2 separate regions of the Homo sapiens genome follow, and region 1 is linked to region 2. Evidence: promoter capture Hi-C in 16 types of primary human blood cells and fetal thymus (Javierre and others, 2016). All regions are on one chromosome and are shown on one strand. Each heading gives the region's core, a stretch centred on a gene start or on the middle of the fragment in contact. The rest is flanking DNA. Distances are from core to core; before and after follow the strand shown.

Region 1 (7,672 bases), core at 5,131-7,630, 3.4 Mb after region 2:
CACACAAGTTAACTCACACTAGCAAAGGGGTGTGAGCTCAAGCATTATTGGACACAGACACACACACCCCACCACAGGCCCAAAACTGCCCACAATCTCTTCCACACTGGTTCTAAATGTGCAAAGCAGAATGTGAGACAGGCGAGCATTCCTGGCTCCAGGCCTGGGTCATCATGCCATTTATTGGGCAACTAGGGCCTTCTCCTGAGAATGAATGTGGGAAGTCTGTTATCAGATAGGCCCAAGCAGCAGGTGTGAAACTGGAGCATCCTGGGTCAAGCTGCTTAAAAACGGACCCTGCAACCAGGGTAGGGGCAGAGAAAGTCCCCTCAGGAGCCTTGTCCCTATGGGATGCCATGAGAATCTGTGGCACGTGGTGGCCTTCCTCAGCCTCCCTGAGCCACCATCCTCCCACCCCGCCTGTGTAAAAGCCAAGACAGCCTGAGCAGAGTCAGACTTGAGTGAGTTGCTGAGTGTCCCCCGTGAGGGAGACTCCGGGATTCTGGTGACCTCCATGTGCCATCCCAAGGTGGTAAACTCTACCTGCAGCTCCAGGCTTTGGAGGACCCTCAGTTCTGGGGAAAATTGTTTTGTAATCCAGCTGAGTGGCCAGCGCCTTGTCCTGGGGTGGCAGCCCTGTGATCCCAGTCCTCCTGTGGTTTCCCAGAGGCCATGATTATGTGTCCTTTGTCTTTTACTTTCTGCACTGGTGGGAGCCATAATACCTGGAGAGGACCAAAGGAAGGGCAAAGGCTGGCTGCCTCTACAGCATTCTGCAGGATCTCCAGTCTACAGGTCCTTGGTCCTAGGGTCCCCTAAATTTGGTGGTCAACCTGGGACCAGGTGGCTGGTTCCTTTGTCTTCTCCTTGTCTTTTTTTTCTCCTTCCTCTTTACTTTTTTCACATGGGAAAGCATGGAGGGCCTCAGCTTGGAGGGGCAGTTGAGGTAGTAGTTGGCATTTGTGGAGCCATACTGCCATCAAGCGGAAACTATTTCTGGAAACGGGAGGCAGCTGGGCACAACTGCTGGGGAAATCCGAGGGGCACAAAAGAGATGGTGGCGTGTGGCCCCCAGACTGAAGCTGGATGAGAGAGGAACCCCTTGCTGGCCCTTCGCCTGGGCTCATTCTTAGGATGGCACCCTGGCTCCACAGCTGTCTTTAGGAAAGGGCAGTCAGGCCGGCTGTGAGCAAGCAGAGCTTCATAGGACAGAAAATGGCTTCCCCTGGCAGTCTCCAGGAACTGCCAGGCATGAGTCACCCCACACTCAGCATCCTGAAGCTCCTTTTCCTCCCGGGAGGGTAGGGGCTCCCTGTTCCCCCTGTGGCCCCCCAAGGGCACCTCGGAGCTGCCCACAAAAGAGACCAGGGTAAACAGCCCCATTCTCATCCATCAGTTGCCAGTGGCTTCCCTTATGCACATCTCAAAATGGCTGCTGGGGCAGCTCCACCCTGTGGGTTGACTGGTCTGCAGGCTGCATGGCTGCTCTGTCTCTGGGCCTCTAGAGTAGCTGCTTCTCCAAGGGGTCCCAACGGCAGGTACGCTTTGTTCTAGGGCTCTAAACCCTGGTCGGGGAAACCCTGGCTCAGGCAGAGTCCACCCAGCCCCGCATATTTTTGCTGACCTCGGTGCCTAGCAGAAGGCAAGTGTTTCCGCAGCCTGTTGTCATGTTCAGAAACACCTTCTGCTGGATGGCACTGCGACTCCACAAATGGCAGTCATGTCTTCTTCTTCCCCCACTGTGCCTTCGTCTTTCTCCATTTCCTGCCAACTGAACAAAACCAACACAAAAAAACAAAAGCAAAGAAACAAAGAAAGAAACTGTCCAAGGAGTACCCACCTCACCTATAGCAGGTCTCCCCACCTACGAGGTCACTTTGCGGAAACCTGCAACAGTAGGAGGGTTCTCTGCCTTCCCCCTTCCCTCTAGATTCTTCTCTGGGCAGGGGTCCCAGTGAATTAGAGGATCCTATCCTCAATACATCCCACCCTTAGGCGGTGGCATGGTGGGGGTAGGTTGCACTGGGGGCAGTGTGAGGGGGTACAGGGGGAGGGGTGTGTGGGTGAGTGGGCCTGCGTGTGGGCCCCTGCCGATTCCTCTATGAATCTGCACAGGTCTCCTAAGAAGAGACCAGGCCGAATGCTGGTGCACACCACACTTGTCTCTAGGCAGCAGTCTTTTTCTTGCTGAAAGGTTAAAAGCTTGGATGGAAAGCAGCCAGTTCAAACAGGTATCCATACATTGTTGACCCATCCAGCTGCAGGGATTCGGGCCAGATATTTCTTGTGATGGGACTGGATGGGAGGGACTCTTGTCTGAGACCTTCAGCGACCTCTCTCACTGGAGCCCAGGCACTCATTCGTGCCCAGAAGTGGGAGGGGTATTTCTGGGTGAATTTCACAGTTGGCTCTTCTGGAGAGAGAGCCACTTGGCATGTCTGATAGAGCATGCATGCTTACTGGAACGTGGTGGTTCACCAGTTAGTTGTTCTGGCATCTTGGTCATTCTGCCAAAGTGCATGGGTAGCTCGCTTTCACCTGGGCCTGTCTGTGTTGCTGTGCTGCGTGTGAAAGGAGAGATTTTATGTGGAGTGTTTTAATTTGTGGTTGGGCAATTGTGCCTTGGTTTGATACAGAGCTCTCTGGGGTCCTCAAGGTAAACTCTGGTGCTTGCTGGATATTCATCCCAGAAAATGAATGAGATGGTCGAGGACAAATTATGCCGGCCCTTTAGGGTCTCCAGGCAGACATAAGAAAGCCTGACGTGGTCCATCATACAAAGCCCATGTTGGGATGCGAAGCCATGACCGTGTTGCTCTAAAGGTTACATATGCTACCCATGCTGCTCAGTGCCTGGGCAGCAGCTTGGAACACAATGCTCTCTGAATATTGCAACTGTTCTCTGTCTTTGCTTGTTACAAGTCTTTCTTGATGTGTAGGCTGCACTGGGAACAGGCAGAGTTTCACAGGACAGAAAATTTACCCCATGGGTAATGATTCCCACAATCAGGGGTGCGTGAACCACTCTCACAAGAGGAACGTCAATCTCGTGTATGGGCCTGCACTCTCTGGGCATTCCGTGGAGAAGACCCACATGACCATGGAACAGGCTTCACCCGATTTCTTTTAATTGTCAACAAATGCAGGTCCTTTTTTCATATGTAGGTAGCATCCACCACGGGCGCACCTCTGGCCCTGCCTAGGGAAAACGCGAGAATAAAAGAATGCAGGAAGATCTGGACTGTGTCTTTAGGGGTGGCATTGTGACTCTGAGTTTCAGAGGTTCTCGTTTTTAACTTTTAACCCCCATTATGTCTCAACTTTTTCCTGTCTTCATCTGTGCTTGCATAGGTCCTCAGGCACATCCATGTATCCCCACCCATGCTCATAAGTGTCTGCCCAGACACCTTCATTCACACCTGTGTCTGGTCCTCTAGGCCGCTCTCAGTGGGCAGTTTTTCAGGTTTCCGGTTCCCTCTTCATCTTTCTTGTCCCTTTCTGTCTGACTTCCCAGTATTTGTTGGCATAATGTTCAGGATGGGGTTGGGGTGGGGGCAGCGGGGAGCAGGGCAGCCCCCTGGCCTAACAGGCCTCTGTGCGGATGTGGTGGAGATCTGGGATTATGGGACTGACTCTTTCTCCTGGCTGATGGCTCCCTCTCTGTGAGCCCACAGGAGGCCACTTGGGCTGCCAGCTGCCCACCTGGAGCACTCTGCATTCCAGTTCACTCTCAACTTCATTGCTCACTCTGATTCTTTGTGTAGTTTTGGAGGTTTTCTCCCTTCACTTTTTTCTTCTTTACTCTTTTTACTTTTCATTCACTTTTGTTTGGGGAGGTCAGGATCAGCCTGGAAGTCAGGGTCAACTGGGCTAGGGAACACCCTTAGGGAAAACAAACTTATTTTTCCTAAGGAAATTAGAAGGACCCCAGCTGATCCCTGCAAGGAGTGATTGGCATTTCCCTTTCCTTTCTGCCCTCTCTCCATATTGCCATTTGTGGCTGATTATCTCTTTTCCCTGATATATATTTCCTCCCCGTTTTTCATCTTCCTCTCTTTTTGGGGGTCCTTCCCTGCCTTGGCCTTGTAGGCTTGGGGCTCAGTGGTTCCTTGCAGTCTGCTGATGACATCCTCAGGGCACTGTTCAGCCTACACCTGTGTCTTCTGTAGCTCCTGCAGGACTATTTGTGGATCAAAGCTTTTGATCCCACTCAGGAAAGATCTCATTGACAAGAAGCTTCTCGGTTGTGTGTCCTTTAAGTGGGACATGACCGGTGGCTCCCTGCCACTCGTTGTGTATGTCATCACACATTCAGGTCCCCCTGAACTAGATCCTTCAGGAGAGCTACAGTGTCATGGACCTCCCACTTCCTATTCTTTTTCTCCTTCTGTTTCTTCTTCCTTTTCCTACTCCTGCTCCTCTTCTTTATTGTTCTTTTCCTCCTTTCCTCCTCCTCCTCCTCCAACTCCCTCTCCTTCTTCTTCTTTTTCTTTCCCTCTTCTTCTTTCTTCTTCTTCTTCCTCTTCTTCCCCTTCCCTCCTTCTCCTTCTTCTTCTTCCTCTTCCTCTTCTTCTCTCCTTCTTTCCTTTTCCTCCTCCTTCTCCTTCTTCTTTTCTTCTTTGACTTCTCTTTTTGCCTTCTTTTTCTTTCTCTCCTTCTTTTCTATTTCTCCTTCTACATCTTTTTTTCTACTTTTCTTCTCCTTCTTCTTCTACTTGTTCTTCTTTCTTTCCTTTTTTTTTCACTTTTGGATTTCTGCATGCAAATGTTCTAGCAGATTGCTTCTTCTTCTCCTTGGTGATGGGGAATGTCCTTCTGCAGCTCTAGGCCTCAAGAAATGCTTCACTTTTCTTCTTAAAAGAACAGCGATGAAGGTCACCAGTTCAGTCCTTCTTTTCCACCAAAAAGCTGTCCTCGTGTTACTTTTAAGTGAAATGTCATGGTAAACACACCCTGTACCTAGTACCTTATAGCCCACCATTCTTTCCTGTTCTCCTTGTGGACTCTCTAAATGTGTAAACCTGAGTCAGTAGGAGCCTCAGCAATTTGTTACATTGTTCCCCTATTGCCTTTCCTTCCAGTCAGGCCAGGTGAACAAAACGATACGGATTTCAGTGTGTACAGTCAGGCTGTCTCTGCCATGTGCCAATTTGCCCACTCTCACTCACACAAGCAGGAACTCACAGACCACAGACACAGAACACATGCACACACTCACAAGAAACCCCACAACCAGAAATGAAATTACAAAACCCATACACACATGGAGATACATGCAGATGCAGACACAAACACACATGCAGACACACACACGCAGGCACACTGACACATAAAGTCACACATACACAACCAGACCAATAAACAGGTAACCTCACATGGGCACAGGGGTTGGGGCTCAAGCATTCTCACACTTAGAGGTAAACAAACACACAAAGCCACAGGCATGAGACTGCCCACACTGTCTCATACGGGCTCTTAATCTCTGACAAGCAATGGGCTATGGGCAAGCATTCCTGGCTTCAGGCCTGGGTCCTCATGCCATTGATTGGGCAACTTGGCTTTCTCCCAAAAATGAATGCGGGCAATCTTTTATCAGAAAGGCCACAGCAGCAGATGTGAAACTGGAGCATCCTGGGTCAACCCGCTTAAAAACAGACTCCCCTTTCAGATAGAGGCAGAGAGAGTCCTGTTGGGATCCTTAGCCCTTTGTGATGTCATGGGAATCTGTGGCAACGTGGTGGCCTTTTTGAGTCCCCCTAAGCCACATCCTCCCACCCCTGCCTGTGTGAAAGCCAGGACAGCCTGTGCAGAGTCAGACTTGCACGAGTTGCTGAGTGTGCTTTCTAAGGGATACACCTGCCTCAGGTCCTGTGGCTCCCTGTTGAGCAGTCTGCCCGTTCTGGTGACCTCCATCTGCCAGCCCAAGGCGGTAAACTACCTAGAGCCTTTGGGAGGACTCCTAGTCCTGCAGTAAAACCTTGTGTAAGCCAGCTGAGTGACCAGCACCTTGTCTTGGAACGGCAGCCCTTTAATCCCAAGCCTCTTGTGTCCCAGTGCCCATGATTATCTGTCATTTGTCTTTTACTTTCTGCAGGAGCAGGAGACATGAAACCTGGAGAAGGCCAAAGAAGGGCAAAGACTGGCTGCCTAAACAGTATTCCTGCAGGGTCTCCAGCCTACTGGTCCTTGGTCATTGGGACCTGTGAGTTTTGGTGGTCAACCTGGGACCAGTTGGCTCGTTCCTTTCTCTCCCTCCTGTCTTTTTCTCGTTCTCCTTCCTATTTGCTTTTTTCACATTGGAAAAGGTGGAGGCCCTCAGGGTGGAGGAGCAGGGTTACAACTGTACTTGGCGTTTGTGGAGCCATAGTGCCATCAAGTGGAAATTGTTTCTGGAAATGGGAGGCACCTGAGCTCATGTGCTGAGGAACGCTCGGGAGTGCCAGACAGATGGTGGTGTGGAGCCCCCAGGCTGAAGCTGGGAGAGGAACTCCTGTCTGGCCCATGGTCTATGCTCATTCCCAGGATAGCGCCCTGGCTCCACAGCTCTCTTTGTAAGAATGGACAGGCAGGGGCGGCCCACCATGGGTTCCCCTGGCAGCCCCCAGAGACTGCTTGGCATGAGTTGCCCCACCCCAGCATCCCAAAACTTCTTTGTTCCCAGGGAGGATAGGGTGCCCCTGTCCCTGCGTGGCCCCAGCCAAGGGCACCCCTGAACTCTCCACAAAAGAGACCAGAGCAAATGGCCCCAGTCTCGGCAGTCAGTGAACAGTGGTTTCTCTTAAACCCATTTCAAGATGGGGAAGCTCCGCCCACTGGGCTGACTGGTCTTGGGGCTGCCAGACTGTTCTGTCCCCGGGCCTCTAGCTTAGCTGCTTCTTCATGGAGTTCCAATGGCAGGTACACTTCCTTAAGGGCTCTGAACCCCAGTGGGGGAAACCCTGGCTTGGGCCTAGTCTACCCAGCCTGGCACATCCTCGCTGATATCTGTGACTGGAAGAAGGCAAGTGTCCTTGTAGTCTGTTGTCAAGAAACACCTTCCGCCGGATGGCACTGTGACTCCACAAATGGCAATCACCCCTTTTCCTTCCTCCACTTTGCCTTTCTCTCCTTCCTTTTGCTGCCAACCAAACAAAACAAACACACACAAAAAAAACAAAGAAACAAAGAAACTGCCCAAGCAGCACCCACCTCATCTTCAACAGGGCTCCCCACCTATGTGGTTACTTTGGGGAAACTTGCAACAGTAGGAGTGATGTCTGCCTCTCCTACCCTCTGGATTCTTCTCTGGGCAGGGGGTCCCAGTAATCCAGAGGAGCCTATCCTCAAGAAATGCTATGCTTTTGCTGTGGATTTGTAGCACCGGGGGCAGTGTGAGGGGGTAAAGGGGGAGGGGTGTGTGGGTGTTTAGGCCTGTGTGTGGGCCGCTGCAGATTCTTCTATGAATCTGCACAGGTCTCCTCAGAAGGAGACTGGTGCCTGCCTAGGGAAAACATAGGAAGAAAAGAATGCAGGAAGATCTGGACTGTGTCCTTAGGGGTGGCAAGGTGACTTTGAGTGTCAGAAATCCTCATTTGTAATATTTAACTCCCATCTCATCTAACTTTTTTCCTGTCTTCATCTGTGCTTCTATATGTTCTCAGGCACATACATGCATCCCCACCAATACTCACTA
Region 2 (7,033 bases), core at 1,007-3,506:
CCTGTAGTCCCAGCTACTTGGGAGGCTGAGGCACGAGAATCACTTGAACCCAAGAGGCAGAGGTTGCAGTGAGCCAACATCATGCCACTGCACTCCAGCCTGGACAACAGAGCAAGACTGTCTCAAAAAAAAAAAAAAAGAAAAGAAAAAGAAAAAGAAAAAACAGGGTCCCAATAAATAAAGTACTTGACACACAGAGTAGGTACTCAATTAATTAGTCCTATCCTAAGTCTGGACTCAGCTGTCTCCCTCATCACAGCAGGACTAGCACATCATGCAGACCAGGAGTCAGCCTTTTAGGAACCAATATCCAACCTTTGGGCTTCTCCCATCATTTCCAGGGAGGACAACATCATCTCACAACCCCAAGCCTCTCTAATCACAATCAATATGGTAAACATTTTTGTAATATATATTATGGACTGAACACCAGTAAAACGTTTCAAGGAATGTCTGCTTTAGGGTACTCACAGGCCAATGAAGATACAAAAACATGCACCATCAATATAGGACTTAATAAACATTAACGTGTACCAAGTGTCTACGGTATGCCACAGAGGAAGACTCACTCACCAAAGGGACTAAAGGAATGGCTTGTAGAGGTGGGCCTTGAAGAACGGGGGCAAGTGGGGGAGTGCCATAGCCCTTTTCAGAACAGCTGGGAATACAAATCTACTAATGCTGAGGGGACTGAATGCCAAGAGGTACATCCTAGCTCTTCCAACAGGGGCCACTACACTAAAACCCGAGGAAACTGGGTGGACACCAAGCATTAGCCCTCCAGGCCAGTGGTTCTCAAACAAGTTGGGGGGTTGGGGGAATCACACACACCCTCTGTGACATCTAGCAATGTCTAGAGACAGTTTTGATTGTCATGCCTGGGGAGCAGGGGTGCTACTGTTATCTAGCAGGTAGATGCCAGAGATGCTGTTAAACATCCTACAATGCACAGAGCACATCCCACAGCAAAGGATTATCTCGCTGGAAATGTCAATAGTGCCACTGTTGAGACACTCAGTCTCCAGGAAAGGTACTCAGTATGTGCTACTTCAGCAAGGGCAGCCTCTTAGGCTAGGATATCATTCAGCTAGAACATCTCTGGGGTGGAAGAATACAGCAGGATTCCAAATGGACATCTGAGGTGAGAGGAATCCACGGTGTATCGTTTAGAGTTGGGAAGACACAAAATAGAGGCTTTACCTGACCACCCTTTCTAAAGACACCACCTAAGTCACTTTATCACATCCACCTGTCTCATTTCCTGTATAGCACTTATGACAGCCTAAAACCATCTTATTTTCTCCTTATCTTCTTTCCCCTCTGGAATATAAGTTCCCTGTGAGCATGGAGTTGGTTTATTCTATTCTCCGCTGTTTCCACAACTTGCAACTGAATAACTCCTGATAAACAATAAGCATTCAACAAATTTGGTAAATTAGTTAATTTCGGCTTTTGACGGTTTCGGTGGTAGGAAAAGGGCGAGTTCGAGGCAACTACCTCTGACATAGCGGTGGGGGGTGGGGATCGACACCTCAAGCATTCTAAAGACTGGAGCGCTGGGTCTGAAATTCAAAAGTGCCGCCTCCAGAGAAGAGTAGAAAGGAGTTGGAGTGTACCAATGCGAGGCGAGAGAGGACGCTGGGCTGAAACAGAAGTGCACCGTTTGGGACCGAAGGCCACGGGAGAGCTACCAGCGTCCCCACATTCTCCGGAGGGGGTCAAGTAAGGCTGGGAAGCCGGCTCCGGCCGGTCCGGCGGGGAGCCGCGCGGCGGAGGACTGAGCTGGCGGGAAGCTGGTTCCAGACGCGACTCCTTTGGCGGGAGGGGGAAGTAGGCGGGGTAACTGGCAGCTCGGCCTGTACCACTGGGCCGGGGCGGGGGCCGCGCAGGAAGCGGCAAGTGACACCTGGAAGGGGTTCGAGTTAGAGCACCCGCGCGGGGAGAGTGGGTTCGAGCAGAACCCCCTCTGGACGGGCAAGGAACCCGTAAGGGTCCGCGACGTTTCAGGTTACATGGGCTGGGTTGTACTACTCCGGCACCGGATAAGGGGTCCAGGCCGGGACGTGCGCAGGGCCGCGGCCAGGTTTATCTCACCAGAGCCATTGGGTCCAATGATGGCGGTGAACCTCTGAAATGGTCCGATAATCTGTCGACCCTTGTACGACTTAAAGTTCTCAATCTCAATCAGTTTCAGGAACCCCATGACGGCCGCGGCGCCGGCGGCAGTAGGACAGGCCGCGCCGTACGCCCGAGAACTGAGGTAGCCCGCGCGGGAAACGCCGCAGTGCAAGCCGGGCGACCGGCAAATGTCGCGAGAATACGTCCAGGCCTAACGGGATTTTCGCCTTCCGGCAGGAGTGGGACCAGGGGCGGGGACTGATGTTGCGTATACGAGGAGCGAGCTGACGACTGGCGTGGTGCCTCCGCCCCCCTTTCTTGTTGCATGGCAACAACAAACACTTGCTCCTGCGGACCAGATCCCCGGAGGAGTTGTTGCTGGGCGGAGTCAGAGCAGTTCTTGAGGTTCAAGGAGGCGGGGGAGACCTGAGCTCACGCTTGCTGAGACAGAAGTCACAGCAGGATTATGCCCCTCAGGGCAAGAGGAAGGTGGGAGCTCGGCTGTGGCTTTAGCCTGGCCAGCTTTCAAGGCTAGGACAAGGACAGGGTCGGGAATTGGAAGGACCCGGGGGGAGCGGAGAGCTGGACGGGAAGGAGGGGCCAACGGGAGGATTCAGTGTTAGGTGAGCTCAGACTTTGCTAATGGTGGGGTGGGATTGGTGGCGGGACGGGTTGCGAAGGCGGACGGGTTGTGAATGGGACTGGGGCTACTCCCAGGCAACAGGGATACAGGCTGGGGAAGGCTACGGCCTGAGATACTACCCCTATCCCCTGCCTCCCTCCTGTTGTACCAAGCAGAGTTCAGAAACTGCCGCCGTAACCCAAGAACAAAGTTGCATGCAGAGCCAACCTAAGAGCTTCAAAATCGGGATTCCTTACTGAGAAAGGTATTTTGTGTGAACCCCCAGGAGTCAGGGTCCCTAAGCCAGCGCTCTCCACCTCCACCTACCTCTGCCTCCATGCCTCTCCCCCATCCCATTCCCACAGCTCTATACCACAATGCCACCTTACCTCTCTTCCCTCTCTGCTCTCTATCATTAATAAGGCAGGGGCCTTAGCAATCCAAGAAGCTTAAAATGTCAGCTGAATCTTCCCCTTCAGTGACCTTATACTGTAATGGCAGGTGAAACCAGTAGGTAAGTTGGTGCCATTCTCAGACTTAAACATGGAAAGGATCTGGTGGTTGCCATAATTATTCCTTTAACTATTTATTAAATTATGTCCGAAGGCTAGAAAGAGTCCTAAAGACTTAGGACAAGTCCAGGAAAGTGAGGAAGTGGCTGGGCATGGTGGCTGACAACTGTAATCCCATCGTGAGGGAGGCAGGCCAAGGCAGGAGGATCACTTGAGACCAGCAGTTCAAGACCAGCCTGGGCAACATAGTGAGACCCTATCTCTACTAAAAATTAAAAAATTAGCTGGGTGTGGCAGCTCTCACCTCTGGTCTACCCAGGATGCCGAAGCAGGAGGATCACTTGAGCCTGGGAGGTTGAGGCTGTAGTGAGTGGTGTCCGCACCACTTCACTCCAGCCTAGGTGACAGAGCAATACCCTGTCTCAAAAATAAATAAAGGGAGGAAGCTTGGTAGATGGAATCTAGTAGGGGAGCCATAAATGAAGTTCAGCTGGGAGAAACAATCAGGCTGAGGGGATAAAATGGCTAAAAGACAGCAATCTCATGTAATCCATGGGGAAATACTGTTCCCTTTTAAAAGATGAGATGGTGAGCCTGGGTAACATAGCAAAACCCAATCTCTACAAAAAAATTTTAAAAATTAGGCAGGCATGGTGGCACACACCTGTAGTCCCAGCTACTCAGGAGGCTGGGGCAGGAAGATCCTTTGAGCCCAGGAGTTTGAGGCTGCAGTGAGCCATGATTGCACCACTACACTCCATCCTGGGCAACAGAGAGAGACCCCATCTAAAACAAATTAAAAATAAAATAAATTTTATTCTCTGCCTCAGCCTTCCAAGTAGCTAGGATTACAGGTGCCCACTGCCACGCCTGGCTAATTTTTTTGTATTTTTAGTAAAGACAGGGTTTCACTATGTTGGCCAGGCTGGTCTTGAACTCCTGACCTCCTGATCCACCTGCCTCGGCCTCCCAAAGTGCTGGGATTACAGGCGTGAGCCACCGCGCCCGGCCAAAAATAAAATAAAATTTTAAATTTAAAAAAGATGAGATGGCACTTGGGGGGAAAATTAAATTGGATCCTTATCTCACACCATACACAAAATGCAACTCCAAGTGGATTAAAAACCTAAGTGACGCCGGGCACAATGGCTCATGCCTGTAATACCAGCACTTTGGGAGGCCGAGGCAGGAGAATTGCTTGAGTTCAAGACTAGCTTGGGCAATATAGTGAGACCCCATCTATATTAAAAAAAATTAAATGGGGCCAGGTGTGGTGGCTCATGCCTGTAATCCCAGCACTTTGGGAGGCCAAGGAGGGTGGATCATAAGGTCAGGAGATTGAGACTATCCTGGCTAACACTGTGAAACCCCATCTCTACTAAAAATACAAAAATCAGCCGGGCATATATGTTCAACTACTTCACAGTTACAAAATGGAAAACAAAACAAAACACCAAAAAGATCCAAATAGCTATAGGAGGAATTAAAGAATCACGCTCCAAACAAAGGAACAGCACATACAAAGGCCCCGGGGTGGGAACAATTACTGTGTTGGAGGACTTGATCAGCTTGCCTGGAGCACTGTAAGCAAGGGAGACAGTGGTTTGAGACAAATTGGAGAGGTGTGCAGGAACTAGATCTTGAAAGCCCACAGTAAGGAGTTTGGATCTGATTCTAAGTATAGTGGGAAGCTAGTGGAGGATTTAAGCAGGTGAGAGACATGATCAGATTTATGTTTGCTAAAGTTTTTTTGGCTGCAGCTTTGGCTGGGTTACATGCCAAAAGTGAGCTTCCCAAAATATGAAGGAACACAGGCAAATTTAGCTTTCTAGCCTTTCATTTGACCAGAAAATAAGTAATAAAAGTAAAAAAAAAAAAAAAAAAAAAAAAAAGGGTGGGGGGACATATATTTCAGAAAAGAAAGCTGCTTCTGGTTTCTGTGATTGGGCTATAGGAGTCAATAGAGGAAGCTGGAATACCAACATGGAGACAGTTGTGGTTATTCAGGAAGCTGGCAATGGTGGCTTGGATAAGGGTTATTTTGAAAGAAGAAGGAGTGAGGGAAAGGAAGGATTAAAGGATGTCTCCTAGGTTTTTGACCGGAGCAACTTGGTGAATGGTGGTGCCACTTACTGAAATAAGGAAAACTGAATAGAGTATAATGAAAAAGGAGTGTTGTAGATGTGTTTGAGGCTTAGAAAGGTGAGCAGGGGTCAGATCATGAAGAACCTTATAAATCTGGCAAAGGGGGTTGGGCCTTATAAGCACTGGGGAGCCATTGCTTTAAAGGTGCTTTCAAAGGCTTTACGCTGAGGAGTGCCATGGTCAGATTTGCTTCCCAAAGATCACTCTGGTAGCCAGTGCAGAGAAATCCAGTGCAGAGAGGGTAACGTTGGAGCAAGAGAACCCAGTGGGGCTCCTGAGATACTGCCTGACACCAGATTGTGAGGCCTGAATTAAGCTGGTGACAGCAGAGATGGAGGGCACAGATACGAAATATATCAGGAAGTAAAATCAGTAGGAATCAATAACTGCTGAAATATTATAGGGAGAAAGGAATGGGGGTGGCGTGTAGTCAAAGACGGTGGTCGGCACTGATGGGCCATTCCACCTCCCTTTTGCTCCAGATGTATAACATAAAACAGTCAACAGATACCAAGGAAGCAGCAGCCATCGAGGCTAGAAGAAATCGAGAAAAAGAGCGACAAAACCGATTCTTCAATGTGCGGAACCGAGTCATGGGGGTGAGTGGGTAGTAGGGACTGTTGCTCAGGATCAGGGCCACCTCACTCTTACACCTGGAGAGGAATGTGTAACAGTGCCCATGATAGCCCTTCCCCTGATTCAAGTAGGCCCCTAGGGCAGGAAAGGAAAGAGAGGGAGAGAAGGCACCCACCCCTACAGGCCTGGGAAGAGCTTGGGAAGAGGGATAGGTCAGTGCAGGGGAAGAGACTAGGGGAGACGGCTGACCCTTCTCCAGTCAGCTCTGGGCCATGTGACCTGGTTCTTGAGACAGGCAACATGGAGCTAAAAGAGGCCTAAAGAATATTTGGAGTCCGGGTGCAGTGGCTTACACCTGTAATCCCAGCACTTTAGGAGGCTGAGGTGAGCAGATCACACAAGGTCAGGAGTTAAAGACCAGCCTGGCCAACGTGGTGAAACCCTGTCTCTACTGAAAATACAAAAATTAGCTGGGCGTGGTTGTGCATGCCTATAATCCCAGCTACTTGGGAGGCTGAAGCACAAGAATCACTTGAATCCAGGAGGAGCAGGTTACAGTGAGCCGAGATCACACCATTGCACTCCAGCCTGAGCAACAGTGAGACCCTGTCTCAAAATTACTGCATATACCTAAACTATCTCTGCAAGGCTATGTTGAGAAACTTAACCAGGCTGAGAGACAGAGATGGAAGGGACACTTACGCCTCACTAAACTGTATTCCTTTTTGTATGATTTTGAAATGTGATAAATGAATTATAATAAAAGAGAAAATATTGATAGTTTAAGAAACAAAAGATTGCTAGGTGAGTGGATAGAGGGGGGATGCAGCATGGTATTCTGGAAAAGACCCCGTAAGTATTTAAGGCCAGGTCTGCTGACTGTTATGTGTGTGGCTTTGGATAAATCACCTGTCTTCTCTGAGCCCCAGGCTCCTCTTCTGTAAAATGAGGCTGAAGGAAGTCAGGTGAGTGTTAACACAGAGTGGCAGCTTTGAAAACCAGTGCATAGTGCCTGCCGTAAGAAGTTGGCTAGGGTATTAGTGTTCTGATTGAGATCCAG

What was found. The method cuts DNA at HindIII sites, captures the fragments that hold promoters and counts their contacts. A CHiCAGO score of 5 or more calls a contact.
Region 1: a fragment that was not itself captured here is called in contact with the fragment with the promoter of SMC1A in region 2 in 1 of 17 cell types (fetal thymus); the score reaches 7.8 in fetal thymus.

Annotation. Positions count from the first base shown.
Region 1 is chrX:56,792,616-56,800,287 of GRCh38, forward strand. The region is part of intron 2 of NBDY (negative regulator of P-body association); the gene reads left to right. Among named protein-coding and RNA genes, the nearest start is that of NBDY, 67 kb to the left of the region's middle. The HindIII fragment of the contact is 4,293 bases long and covers 4,235-7,672 here.
Region 2 is chrX:53,420,398-53,427,430 of GRCh38, forward strand. SMC1A (structural maintenance of chromosomes 1A) reads right to left here and starts at 2,257. Exons shown (of 25, transcript NM_006306.4): 1 at 2,095-2,257. The coding sequence starts at 2,203. It overlaps RIBC1 (RIB43A domain with coiled-coils 1), which reads left to right and starts at 2,476. Exons shown (of 8, transcript NM_001031745.5): 1 at 2,476-2,607; 2 at 2,917-3,005; 3 at 5,880-5,996. The coding sequence starts at 5,880. RefSeq lists enhancers at 1,414-2,388, 1,505-1,684, 1,805-1,854, 2,045-2,224, 2,389-3,360 and 1 more. The HindIII fragment of the contact is 3,638 bases long and covers 1-3,186 here.